Regions from separate parts of the Homo sapiens genome. Here region 1 is linked to region 2. The links are contacts of gene promoters, found by promoter capture Hi-C in blood cells and fetal thymus (Javierre and others, 2016). All regions are on one chromosome and are shown on one strand. Each heading gives the region's core, a stretch centred on a gene start or on the middle of the fragment in contact. The rest is flanking DNA. Distances are from core to core; before and after follow the strand shown. Region 1 has its middle 17 kb from the start of VWF. Region 2 holds the start of PLEKHG6 (pleckstrin homology and RhoGEF domain containing G6).

The links. The method cuts DNA at HindIII sites, captures the fragments that hold promoters and counts their contacts. A CHiCAGO score of 5 or more calls a contact.
Region 1: a fragment that was not itself captured here is called in contact with the fragment with the promoter of PLEKHG6 in region 2 in 1 of 17 cell types (M1 macrophages); the score reaches 7.0 in M1 macrophages.

What each region holds. Positions count from the first base shown.
Region 1 is chr12:6,138,006-6,144,724 of GRCh38, reverse strand. No RefSeq gene overlaps it. Among named protein-coding and RNA genes, the nearest start is that of VWF, 17 kb to the right of the region's middle. RefSeq lists an enhancer at 1,821-2,378. The HindIII fragment of the contact is 753 bases long and covers 4,113-4,865 here.
Region 2 is chr12:6,304,519-6,311,931 of GRCh38, reverse strand. PLEKHG6 (pleckstrin homology and RhoGEF domain containing G6) reads right to left here and starts at 1,250. Exons shown (of 16, transcript NM_001384598.1): 1 at 1,084-1,250. RefSeq lists a silencer at 1,304-1,353 and an enhancer at 1,716-2,436. The HindIII fragment of the contact is 5,964 bases long and covers 158-6,121 here.

The sequences.
Region 1 (6,719 bases), core at 3,240-5,739, 170 kb after region 2:
TGAGCCACCGCGCCCAGCCTCTTCCAGTTTTTGTCATTGCAAATAAAGCTTCTGTGAACATTTGGCCGGGCGCGGTGGCTCACGCCTGTAATCCCAACACTTTGAGAGGCCGAGGCGGGCGGATCACGAGGCTAGGAGATCGAGACCATCCTGGCTAACACGGTGAAAACCCGTGTCTACTAAAAATACAAAAAATTAGCCGGGCATGGTGGTGGCGGGTGCCTGTAGTCCCAGCTACGCAGGAGGCTGAGGCAGGAGAATGGCATGAACCGAGATCGCGCCACTGCACTCCAGCCTGGGTGACAGAGCGAGATTCTCTCTCAAAAAAAAAAAAAAAAACCTTCTGTGAACATTCACGTACAATATTTAACATGAAACTATTTAGATTTCTCTGGCATAAATGCCCAAAAATGCAATAATAGGGTTTAACCATTGTTTTTTGTTTTTGTTTGAGACAGAGTCTCACTCAGTCACCCGTTCTGGAGTGTAGTGGCACTATCTTGGCTCACTGCAACCTCCGCCTCCCAGGTTCAAGCAGTTCTCCTTCCTCAGCCTCCCAAGTAGCTGGGATTACAGGTGCACGCCAAAATGCCTAGCTAATTTTTTTTTTTTTGTATTTTTAGTAGAGATGGGGTTTTACCATGTTGGCCAGGCTTGTCTCGAACTCCTGACCTCAAGTGATCCGCCCACCTCGGCCTGCCAAAGTGCTGGGATTACAGGTGTGAGCCACCGGGCCAGCCCGTTTGTTTGCTTTTTGAGACAGGGTCTTACTCTGTTGTCCAGGCTGGAATGCAGTGGTGCTGAGGTAGGAGGCAGGATCTTACTCTGGACCAGATTGAAGATTGGCTGAAACAGGGAAGAGGCGGGGAAAACACCTCTCCATGACATGCCCACCAGTTGGCTGGGCATGGTGGCTCCCGCCTGTAATCGTAGCACTTTGGGAGGTAGAGGTGGGCGGACCACTTGAGGTCAAGAGTTTGAGACCAGCCTGGCCAACATGGTGAAACCCCATCTCTACTAAAAATACAAAAATTAGTAGGGCGTGGTGGTGGGCACCTGTAATCCCAGCTACTCAGGAGGCCGAGGCCAGAGAATCACTTGAACCTGGGAGACAGATGTTGCAGTGAGCTGAGATTGCACCATTGCACTCTAGCCTATGAGACAGAGCAAGACTCCAGCTGGGGGGGGGGGGGGGGGGGAAAGACCTGACAACCAATTCCATGTCAGTTTACCATTGCCATGGCAACACACAGAAGTTACCACCTCTTTTCATGGCAACCACGTGAAAGTTACCACCATTTTTCTAGAAATTTCTGAATAACCCATACTGCGTCTGGAATTGGTGGGTTCTTGGTCTCACTGACTTCAAGAATGAAGCCACAGACCCTCGTAGTTAACAGCTCTTAAAGTGGCACATCTGGAGTCTGTGTCTTCTGACTTTCAGATGTGTTCAGAGTTTCTTCCTTCTGGTGGGTTCATGATCTCCCTGGCTCAGGATTGAAGCTGCAGACCTTTGCGGTGGGCGTTACCACTCTTAAGGCAGTGCATCTGGAGTTGTTCGTTCCTCCCGGTGGGCTCGTGGTTTTGCTGGCCTCAGGAGTGAAGCTGCAGATCTTCACGGTGAGAGTTACAGATCTTAAAAGCAGTGTGCACCCAGAGTGAGCAATAGCAAGATTTATTGCAAAGAGCAAAAGAACGAAGCCTTCACACTGTGGAAGGGGACCGGAGCGGGTTGCCAATGCTGGCTCCGGCAGCCTGCTTTTATTCTCTTATCTGGCCCCACCCACATGCTGCTGATTGGTAGAGCCGAGTGGCCTGTTTTAACAGGGCGCTGATTGGTGCGTTTACAATCCTTGAGCTAGATACAAAGGTTCTCCACGTCCCCATCAGATTAGTTAGATACAGAGTTTCCACACAGAGGTTGTCCAAGGCCCCAGCAGAGCAGCTAGATACAGAGTGTCGATTGGTGCACTCACAAATCTTGAGCTAGACACAGGGTGCTGATTGGTGTGTTTACAATCCCTGAGCTAGATATAAAAACTCTCCACGTCCCCACCAGACTCAGGAGCCCAGCTGGCTTCACCTAGTGGATCCCGCACCTGGGGCTGCAGGTGGAGCTGCCTGCCAGTCCCGCGCTGTGCGCTCTCATTCCTCAGCTCTTGGGTGGTCGATGGGACTGGGCGCCGTGGAGCAGGGGGTGGTGCTCGTCGGGGAGGCTTGGGCCACACGGGAGCCCATGGAGTGGGTGGGAGGCTCAGGCATGGCAGGCTGCAGGTCCCGAGCCCTGCCCCGCGGGAAGGCAGCTAAGGCCCGGCGAGAAATCGAGCGCAGCGCCGGTGGGCCAGCACTGCTGGGGGACCCAGTACACCCTCCACAGCTGCTGGCCCGGGTGCTAAGTCCCTCATTGCCCGGGGCCAGCAGGGCTGGCCGGCTGCTCTGAGTGTGGGGCCCGCCAAGCCCACGCCCACCCGGAACTCCAGCTGACTCGCAAGCGCGGCACGCAGCCCTGCTTCCTGCTCGCGCCTCTCCCTCCACACCTCCCTGCAAGCTGAGGGAGCGGGCTCCAGCCTTGGCCAGCCCAGAAAGTGGCTCCCACAGTGCAGTGGGGGGCTGAAGGGCTCCTCAAATGCCGCCAAAGTGGGAGCCCAGGCAGGGGAGGTGCTGAGAGCAAGCAAGGGCTCTGAGGACTGCCAGCACGCTGTCACCTCTCAATACCTTAACTTGCAAGTAATTGAAAGTGGGTATATGTATGACTGTTGACCTGCCCCTGAGCTGGTGCTCTCAACACATTGCCTAGGGGTTAGCCCTGCTCTGCAGGAGTAGTCATAAAGTTGTCACACTGCTGCCTCCATAAAGCTGTTTTCTTCTACCACCAGCTGGCTCTTGAATTCTTTCCTGAGCAAAGCCAAGAATCTTCCAGGGCTAAGTCCCAATTTGGGAGCTTACTTGCCCTGCATCAGTGCAATCATAGCTCACTGCAGCCTGGAACTTCGGGGCTCAAGCAATCCTCCTGCCTGAGCCTCCTGAATAGCTAAGATGACAGATGTGTGCCACTACACCTGGCTAATTTTTTCTTTTTTTTGTAGACATGAGGTCTCACTTTGTTGCCTAGGCTGATCATTGTTTTTAAAATTTCTATCTTTACTGATTTTTATCTGCCTGACCTATGGATAATTGAGAAAGCCTTTTTGAAGTCAATTGTCAATTTATGTATTTTGAAGCTATTTTGTAAGATGCATATAAATTTGAGTTGCTGTAACTTTCTGCCTCTCAAATTAGAACCCCAGGTCTTGAGATAGTGATTCTGGGGTCAGGAATCCTGCTGTGCTACTACTGGGGCCAGGAATGCCACCAGATGTAATGGTCTGAGTTCTCTGTAGCTCGATAGCAGCAATAATGTGGTGTCATTGTTCCTGAGAACCAGGGAAGATGAGTCTGAAGCTGCACCATTCTTCTGACATTGTAGCGTGGGTGGGTCCTCTCTATTTTGATGATTGTGAAGGAAGTGAGCATGTTATTCTTGCACAAGATGTTTGTCTTTAGAAGAGAGGAAGTAGAGGAGGACAGCTTCCTCTCCGCTGGGGGCTACAGCTTTATGCTGGGAGCTGGTCGTCTGGCCTAAGAAATACTGCTGTGTTTATTTATTTGGCGCATACTGCCAAGAAAATTCTCTTTCCTGCAGAATTTACGTAAGAGAGATGCTACAAATATACAAAGAAAAGACAAAGATGGGTCCTCCTAGAAAACCTTTCCTCCCCTGAGGTTCTTTTGCTTTTGTACTAGTTACCTGGAGAACTTACTCCTCAGACAGGCAGAGGTCAATTTACCCATCCCCCTGCCTCTGAGCAGCCCTGCCCCATGCGCCCCCAGAGGTCACGCACCCTTCCCATTTGTACTTAATGCTGTTTACATCAGCCCAAGTTCTAATGGCTCTCATACTGTGGTCCTCAGGGATCCTTCTTCCTTGAGCCTCACAGCACTAATTGTCCTCTAACTTATTTGGCAAAGCTGCCTTGGGACACCCTCCATGAGGGCAAGGGAGCAGGTTGTGTGGCATGATATCTTGGCCTATATTAGTTTTCTATTGCTGCAGTGACAAATGACCACAAGCTTAGTGGCCTGAAACAACACAAATTTATCTTACAATTCGTAATTGTAAGAAGCTCGAATTGGATCAAAATCAAGGTGTGTTGGAAGAGCTGGATTCCTTCTGTAGGTTCTATGGGAGAACCTGTTCTTCGCCTCTATCCACTTCCAGGGGCACACATTCCTTGCCTCGTGGCCCCGCGTTGCATGACCTCTGCTCGCATCATCACATCTCCTTCCCTGATGCTGACCCTCCTGCTCCTCTTATAAAAACTCTTGTGATTATATCGGCCCAGCAGGATACTCTGGGGTAAGCCAGGATCATCTCCCCATCTCAAGACCCTTAACTTGCTCACATCTGCAAAATCCCTTTTGCCATGTAAGGTAGCATTCAGAGGTTTGAGATGGGATGTAGACATCTTTGGCTGTTCTTCTGCTACCGTAATGTGTTACGTGGTTGGCTGTATCTGCTCTTCTCTTGTCAAACCCATGGTCTCCTCCAGGCCCTCGTCTTCCCTGTCCGGGAAGGTTCCACCAACCACTAATGGATCTCCCTTTCTCCATCTGACCTCTCACAATACATGCCACTGCTGCCAGAGGGCCTCATCTGGTGTCACAGGATGAACATAAACCCCTACACTGGTTGAAGGTCCCTGAGGACTTGCCTCTTATTCCTCTCTTTGGTCTCTTTTCCTGTGAGTCTCCTTTATAGGCTGTAACAACTGGCTTATTCACCTACTTACTGATTTAGCATCTCAGAGCTTGCCTGCTTCTAAGCTTTTACTTCCTTCCTTGCAGCTGATGTGCCTTTGCCCTCATTTTCACCTGGCAAAATCCTACTCAGCAAATGGGTAATTAAACCATTGCAACCATTATAAACCATTGCAATTTTTCAGGGGGGCCATTTGGCCTTATTGTCAAAGGCCTCACTGAAAATGTGGACGGTGGCTGACCCAGTGCTCCACATGTAGGATTTCATCCTGTGGGAGTAATCCTGAGGGTTGTGCATGGATATAGCTTCAAAGATGTTCACTGCAGCATTGTTAATTAAAAAAAAAAAAAAGTAGGCCGGGAGTGGTGGCTCACGCCTGTAATCCCAGCACTTTGGGAGGCAGAGGCGGGCGGATCACGAGGTCAGGAGATTGAGGCCATCCTGGTTAACGCGGTGAAACCCTGTCTCTACTAAAAATACAAAAAATTAGCCGGGTGTAGTGGCGGGTGCCTGTAGTCCCAGCTACTCGGGAGGCTGAGGCAGGAGAATGGCATGAACCCAGGAGGTGGAGCTTGCAGTGAGCCGAGATTGCGCCACTGCACTCCAGCCTGGGTGACAGAGCGAGACTGCATCTCAAAAAAAAAAAAAAAAAAAAAAAAGTAGCACTAACCTAAATAAATATCCCATAATATGGAACTGGTTACATAAATTGTGGAATATCAGTAAGTGAACTATTCCAGCCAAGTGTGTTATACTCTGATAAAACAGACACTTGAGTGTTATTTAGAAATAGTGCCAGAGTGTCATATGAGTTACAGGCGCAGAATACCACATGGGAACGTGACCCCAGTCTGATGTCCCTGCCCCCTTGCAGAGCCATCCTGTGACTTTCACCGTGCAATTTCCCCAACCACAGTGACGAGTGCTATCTTCTGTGCTGATGATTTGGAGAGCAGGCAACAACTTCCTTGGGTATTAAGCAATTTTTTTTATCTGCAGTTTCAGTTCTGTAGCTACATTTTAATATTATATGCTAATTAACCCACATCATTGTTCTACTAGCAGGGAGTTCAACAGACATTTATGGAGCACTTACCATGTGCTATGCTCCAGACAGAGCACTTTGGAAGATACAGAGATGAGTAAGGCAAGGTCTTGTTCTAAGGAGAGCTCAGACTGGAGGAGATAAGACAAACAAAAATGCATGAAAAGGCTGGGAGCGGTGGCTCATGCCCATAATCCTAACACTTTGGGAGGACGAGGCGGGCAGATCACGAGGTCAGGAGATCAAGACCATCCTGGTAACACGGTGAAACCTCGTCTCTACTAAAAATATAAAAACAAAAAATTAGCTGAGTGTGGCGGTGGGCGTCTGTAGTCCCAGCTACTCGGGAGGCTGAGGTGGGAGAATGGCGTGAACCAGGGAGGCAGAGGTTGCAGTGAACCAAGATCGCGCCATTGCACTCCAGCCTGGGCAACAGAGCGAGACTCCGTCTCAAAAAAAAGAAAAATGCATGAAAAGATGAGAGGGCCACAGAAGCACCCAGAGGTGGTTCAAAGGCAGGAAAAGCGGGGGTGAAGGGTGGGAGGAAAGGAGAAAAGGCTTATGGAAGAGTTATAGGTATAGTGGAGAAAACACGGACTTTGTAATCAGGTAGATTCAGATGCTGGCTGCCTTTGGTAGCAGTGTGATCCTAGGCAAGGCCCTTACCCTGTCTGAGCCTCAGCATCCTCAACTATAAAATGAGAGTAACGCTCTCTTTCCCTCAAACGGTTGTTAGAAGGTACAGTGGATTGAATGGTGACCCCCAAAAGACATGTCCACATTCTAACTCCTGGACCCTGTGAATGTGACCTTACTTGGAAAAAGGCTTTTTGCAGATGTAATTAAGGATGTCAAGATAGATCACCCTAGATTACT
Region 2 (7,413 bases), core at 1-2,500:
CTCTCTCACATGTGTGCATATTTGGGGTACAAGCTCCTGCACTGGTCTCAAATGGGAACAAGGGTCACAGACAGGTCTCGGGCTTTCTGGATACACCCAGGTGGGAGGGTTCTCCTTGCACCTAGATATAACCCCATCCCCTTCCCCATATAAAGCTTGGGAAAAAGCTGGAGGGAGGCCATGGTGGGTGGGGTGGGCTGGGAGTGGGGGTGGCTGGAGACAGCCCAGTCTGCCACCAGTTTTTGTACAGCCTGTAAGCCTTTACATATTTACATAGTTGAAACAACTGCTGCCCCCCCTGCAAAAAAGCCACCAATATTTTGGGACAAGTAAATATTACATGATATTCAAATTCAGTGTCCATAAACACAGTTTTGTTGGAATCCATCCTCTTCTGCTGGTCTCCTAATAACCTGTGACTGCTTCTTGCTAGTTGGGACAGACGGTGTAGGCCGCGAAGTCTCTAATCTTTACTGTCTGGCCTTTACTGAAAGGCTTGCCCATCTCCTACCTGAACCCTCCTGACCACAGACAGGGAGGTGAGTGGGGCCAGCTGTCCGGCCACTGCCCTTAGAGACCAGCCAAATAGAATTAGAGTTTCTCCAGTTTCGGGCTATATATTTGGTCCTCCCCAGACTCTGGGAATACCACCATGGAGCTGGGGGCCAGGCGTGGGGCTCCATCCCTCCCCCCTAAACCTGGAGGGAGGGCCCGCCCTCGAGTGGGCAGGGCCTGGAAGAGGAGAGGCCTCCTAAGGGGCGGTGGGCTCAAGAAGGCTGCGCAGGTGTTTGTGCCCCGACCGGGTGGGCCTGAGGTCCTGCCTCAGCCCTCCCTTACCTTCCTCCGATTCAGGAGCAGAGGAGGAAACGTTCGCTGTCCCTCCTGCCGCCTCCCAATAGTCCTCCCTCTGAGGGCGCTGTCTCCCTCGCACTGCTCCCTACCCAGGGTCCTGTCTCAGCCCAGCCCCCGGCTCCCCTCCTCCCGCCTTCGGGAGGCCAGGCCTTCCTTCCCCTTCGCCCCGGCTTCCAGGCCCCGGGTCCCGGCCGCCCCGCCCCCGGGCCGCGTAGCCCTCCCGCCGCTCACCTGTGCCCACAGGTGTCACCGCACCCGCTGCCCTGCGCCGCCCTCCCCGCCCGCGGGGCTCCCCGTCGCCGTCGGCTCCCCGGCGATGCCAGCCAGCCCCGATGCCCAGCCTGGGACTGGGATCGAGCGGCCCGCGGGAGCCGGGCAGCGCGGGTCCGGGCGAGGAGGGCGGGGACCGGGCTGGCCCCTCCCTACCGCCAGCACCGCTCGGGGCAGAGGGGCAGAGGGGCGGGGCCCTGGGGACCGAGCAGCCCCCGCCCTCACGCAGCCACCGCCTTCCCCGGAGAGGACAGCTCACGTGGCGGTGCCCTCCTTTCCCCTTTTCGGTCGCACCTGAACTCGACACCCGCCGGCCGAGCGGGAGGGCTGGGACCGCGCGCCCTCCACTCCGGGCCAGACCCCCGCGAGGCGCTGCAGTAATGAGGGCTGAGTAAGGGGCGGGGCGCCGCCGGGGGAGGCGGCGAGGGTGACAACCTGTGGCAGGCACCCCTCTCTCCTGCTGGTCGCGGCGAGTGGCCGGCCGTCCGGTCCTCCCCCTGCCTCGGCCTAGACCCCTAAGCAGGCAGGGAGCCCGCCTGCCAGCTGGAGGGGCAGGGGGCCCCGTCGCTGTGTGGAGTCCAAAGTGTGAGCCTTATCTCTCAGAGGACCGGCTGGCCTGCCTGGTGGAAGGTGATACTGGAAGGCTATCCTGGACTTTGCCTTTGCTCCAGGGATAGGCAGCTGAGGCCTGACCCGCACTTCTCCTATGACCTAAGACTCAGGTGGGGGCACCCTCCCAGTTCACCTGCAAATAAGCCCACTCCCGGCTACACCAGGGTCACCCAGCCCTTGCGGTGGCTGCTAAAATAGATGCTGTGGGGCCAGGCGCGATGGCTCACGCCTGTAATCCCAACACTTTGGGAGGCCGAGGCGGGCGGATCACAAGGTCGGGAGATGGAGACCAGCCTGGCCAATATGGTGAAACCCCGACTCTACTAAAAATACAAAAATTAGCTGGGCATGGTGACGGGCGCCTGTAGTCCCAGCTACTTGGGAGGCTGAGGCGGGAGAATCGCTTGAACCTGGGAGGTGGAGGTTGCAGTGAGCCAAGACAGCACTACTGCACTCCAGCCTGGGCAACAGAGTGAAACTCCATCTCAAAAAAAAAAAAAAAAAAAAAGAAAGAAAAAGAAAAAGATGCTGTGGAAGGACTGACACATGCTGGGCATTGCATGAAAGGACCATACTTTATTTTCTTTATTTTTAAAATTTATTTTTTAAAAAGAAAATAGAGACAATATCTTGCTGTGTGGCCCAGGATGGACTCCAACTCCTGGGTTCAAGCGATCCTCCTGCTTCGGTTTCCCCACCTTTTCACTTCTCCAAATCATGGCACCTCGTCTGACAGAAGCACTGGATATTTGAGATAGAAGTGTCCTGTGGATGTGTGGTCATTATAATCTCACAACCATGAAACCCAAGACCCTGTAGTTGGCAGGTGGCAGGTCTGAGGCTCCCAGCCCCTCACCCTGACTGTGGTCTATTTCCTGCCAATGAACTCAACAGTGATTGATACGGCTCCTTACTTCTTCAGAGCATCCTGAAGTTCAGGAAACACTTTCAGAAGCAGAATCTCCTTGAGTTGCCAGGGGAAAAGGCCTCTATTCCCTTTTCCCATCTAGGCTATGAAACGCATACATGATCAGAGTGTTCTAGTCCTCACTCGGACTCTGGTGACTCTATTTTGTTTGGAGGAGGAATCTATATCTTTGGGCAGTTTCTAATTTTGTATTCCCTGTGTCCATCCTCAAATCTGCCCTCTGGGATTCTCTTTCTCTGAGCTTGCTGTTGTGTGATTGCTCTGCTGGTTCAGAAGTGTCCTCTGTTCCTCCAGCTCCTTGAACCAGCCTGTCTCCTGCTCCTGGCCCAGCTGGTGGTGGGACTAGTTTTCGGGGGTGAAGTCAGGTGGGAAAGGAACTGCAGTGGCAAGAAACCAGAGTGTGCCTAGTTCCTAGCCCTTCCCTCTTCCCATTCACTGTGTGTGTGTGTGTGTGTGTGTGTGTGTGTGTGTGTGTGTGTGTGTGTGTGTGTGGTGAGAGCTAGACAGAGATAGAGAGATGTCCAGGGATGACAAGAGTAGCCATGAGGGAAAGAGTTAATAAGCCAGGAGAGGAGGTGGTGATTACGGACAGTATTAAATGACACCCCAGAGACAGCTGGTGCCAATGGCCCCTAGCTTCTCCTCCCAGTGTCTCCCAGAAGGAGTGGGAAGGAGGAATAAGAGGGAAGATGAAATTGAGAGAGCACCAAAGACAAGCCTGGGCTTACAGTGCTCTGGGGTGAGCTGGCTAGAGGGGCCCAGTGGCAGGTGGTGGTGGGTGGCGGGGTGGTTAACCCTTTCACTTCCCTCTAGGCGTTGAGGTCCAGTCTCCACCCACTACTGCCCCAGGGCCTGTCTTCAGCCTCCCTGGGAGGAGAGGTTCCCAGGGCAAGCTGGAGTCTAGAAGCCAGAGGTGTGGCCGGGCACAGGTGTGTGGCCTAGGAGGCAGGCCTCCATGTTCTGTTTCTTCTCTTCTGTCACTCTCACAGTCTCCACTTCCATGACTCCTCTGTGCTGCGGAGAGCACACTCCTATGGCAGGCTGAGGGGAGCATTCTCAGGGAGCTGAATGAAATGTAAAGAATTGGGAGGCTGGAGGCTTGGCCTCTGCCAAGTGAGGCTAGGGGCCATCTGGTCCTTGGACCAGAGTATGCCATCTGGATACTTCTCTTTATTCCTGGTTATCCTAGCCTTTCCTCACATGTCTAGCTTGAGTCATATGCCTCACTTTCTCCCAGGTAAGATGCTCCTCATTAGGCCCCTGGATTGACCCCATAACTGATGGTAAAGTGTGTGTCCACGGTCAGAGCTCTGAGGATCAAATGCTTCTGTCCAATAGCAGCCTGAGGATAACTGCCTGGGGTTGGCATAAGGGGCTCACCAGGCAGGAAGGTCAGGGAAACTCATTTGTGCCTCGACCTCTGCTGAGCCCATATCTCTCAGGGCAGAAGTGGGGACCATCTGGGCTAATGAGGGGCTGGCAGGCACTAGCAACAGGAGGCAGCTAATGGGAGCTGTGTCCTCCCTGCCCAGAGCGAGGCAGAAACTGAGGGTTCAAGCTAGGAGGCGCCAGGTCATGTGAGGCAGATGAATACCAGGAGGACAGGCCACAGGGCAAAGCCTCTGGTGCCTCAGGCCAGAACTGGTGCTTCCCGTTTCTTCTTTCGTCCCCTCCCCCTTCCTTCCACATTTACTGGCAATGTGTAAGACAGTAGGAATATAGAAAAGAATAAGAGGCCCTGACTTCTAGGGGCTTACAGACTAGTGGGGAGGCAGATGGGCGAAAAGAACATTGATATTTAAGTTAGACCAAGAACGACTAAGTCAGGAGCTGTGGGAACACTTTGGAGGGACCGGTTACTACATAGGGGAGCCAGGGATGGCTTCTAGAGGAGGCGAGCTTTGTGTTGGGACTCGAAGGATGAGTAGCAGTCAGCTGGGCTGAGAAGGAGGAAAGGACATTTCTGGAGGAGGGAAGAGCATGTTTAAAAAGAAACTGGGGAAGGGCAGACTTCCCTAAAGGCCTCCTGAGGGTCTACCCTGTTGGCTCCCTGGGAATATCCCAGCTTCCGAGCCGAGGGTCTCTGGGTGGTGGCTTAGGAGGACGAACCTTCTTTGTGGCCTTCCAGGACCTCCGCAGTTTGACCTCAGTTATACTTCCCTACTCAATCCCTAGATGTGTCCCCATTCCCTGGGTCGGCCTCGACTTTCCTGACTCCATGCCTTTGCTCAAGCTGTTCCCCTCAGCTGGGTGCCTTGTCCTCCGACTCCACTTACCTCCTTCGAGGTCTTTCCTAGGACTGCCTCCTTCACGAAGCCTTTCCTAATAATCCCGCAGCCAGGCTGATCACTTTCCTCCCTGCTTGCAGCTGCCTTGACCGCTATGTTTCTTTAAAAGGCACCACTCTTGTTCTCCCTACTAAGTTGATATTAGCATGTGCCACCTATGCCTGAGGGCAGAGACCAGCCTAACACAAGACTGGCATGGTGTTTGGGAATTGAACTGGATTGACTTGCTAGAGGACCCAGACAGAATGACTTGCAGATAGACTGGCCTGTACTGTTCTGTCCCTACCCAAAGGAACCACATTTGCTTTTTAGATACCTGGAATTCTTCCATAATTTCAGTTTCCTTTCCTGCTTGATTACTGTAGCATCAGGACATCTGTGATGCACCTAAATGTTCCTCTCCATTAGGGCAAACATACCATGTAAGTTTACCTTGCAGGCCAATTCTTTTCTCTTTTTCTTTTTTTAAAATTCCAGATTCTCTCAGATCCTGAATTGCGGGCTAATTCTGATAGGTGGTGGGTTCCTGGAACATTAACTTAAGAAGGATTCTGTGGCTGGCTCAGCAGAAAGAATGCTAAGATGGCTTAGCAATGTCTGCCCCAGGGGAAAGAGGGCTCTTTCTGCCTTAGCGTGAGGTTTATCAGTCACTTGTCTTGCACTGAGCCAAGACTGGGACACTGAGAATGTAAGGCCTTTGCCTCTGTTGGAAGCTGATGGCGAAGGTGACTAGAAGACAATCGGGTGGATCTACCTTCTTGGGATTTACGGTGGCATATCTTCCAGTCAGATGTCTGGATGTCCAGGTCTGTGCTCCGAGGCACCCTTTTGACATGCGGCCCCAGAGAGGCTGTGGAATTTTTTTTCTTTTTTTGAGACAGGGTCTCACTCTGTCAACCAGACTGGAGTGCAGTAGCGCCATCACAGCTCTCTGCAGCCCAGACCTCCGAGGCTCCAGTGATCCTCGCATCTCAGCCTCCCGAGTAGCTGGGACCACAGGCACATGCCAACATGCCCTGTAGTGAACAGAACACTGGATGAACAGATGGGTGAACAGAATATTGATATGGAAGTTAGACATAGAAGGGATAAACTGGGAGCTGCAGGAACACTTTGGAAGGACCAGTTACTACATAGGGGAGCTAGGGATGGCTTCTAGAGGAGGCAAGCTTTGTGCTGGGACTTGAGGGATGAGTAGTAGTCGGCTGGGTAGAGAAGGAGGAAAAGGTGCTGGACCAAGAGCTGTGGAATCTTTTTTTTTTTCTTTTTCTTTTTGTTTGTTTGTTTGTTTTTGAGATGGAGTCTTGCTCTGTCGCCAGGCTGGAGTGTAGTGGTGGCGCAATCTCGGCTCACTGCAACCTCTGCCTCCCGGGTTCAAGCGATTCTCCTGCCTCAGCCTCCCAAGTAGCTGGAACTACAGTAGCGTGCCACCATGCCCAGCTAATTTTTGTGTTTTTAGTAGAGACGGGGTTTCACCATGTTGGCCAGGATGGTCTCGATCTCCTGACCTCGTGATTGGCCTGCCTCCGCCTCCCAAAGTGCTGGGATTACAGGCATGAGCCACTGTGCCCAGCCCATTTTGTGTCGGTTTCTACCTTAATTTTGCATTAATCATTTCTGCCTGCCTAAATGACGGATCTCTGCCTCCCTTACTGCTCCTGCACTTGTTGGTTTGTTGTTTTTAGAATACAAATGCACTGTGCAGGGCTCAGAGGCTTGGAGCCATCTCTGTCTCATGCCAGGGTCTTGGTTCATAGGGAAGCCCTTCATCGGGCTTTGGGGGCAGCTGGATTTGATTTGTCTATATCTCCATCCTTGTATGTAAAATGAGGATAAAGTAACTAAATTTTGGAATCATTGGATCATTACAATAATAACAATAGCTAACTTTAATTAATTAATTAATTAATTTTTTAAGAGACAGCATCTTGCTCTGTCATCCAGGCTGGGAGTACAGTAGTGCGATCATGGCTCACTGCAGCCTCAACCTCCTAGGCTCAAGTGATCCTCCCACCTCAGCCTCCCAAGTAGCTGAGACCACAGGTGTGTGCCACCAAACCTGGCTAATTTTTAATTTTTTGTAGAGAAGGGGGTCTCCCTCTCTGCCCAGGTTTGTCTTGAATTCCTGGCCTCAAGGGATCCTCCTGAGTTGGCCTCCCAAAGTGCTCAGATTACAGGCGTGAGCCACTGCGCCCAGCCAGAGCTAGCTTATTAAAGCAATAACTATGTGCAAGGCACATAGTTTATATGTTTTATTTTATTTAATCCTCACAAAAATCCTATGAGGTAGATACTATCATACTCCTATCACAGGGGAGGAAACAGGCTCAGAGAGGTTCCATGACATGTTCAAGATGACAAATTTAGCAAGAAAAAAAGTCAGGATTTGAACTCAATTGCCTCATTCCCAAGCTGGCACCTTTAACTACTATCCAATAGGCAAATAAACAAGTTGCTCTAGGT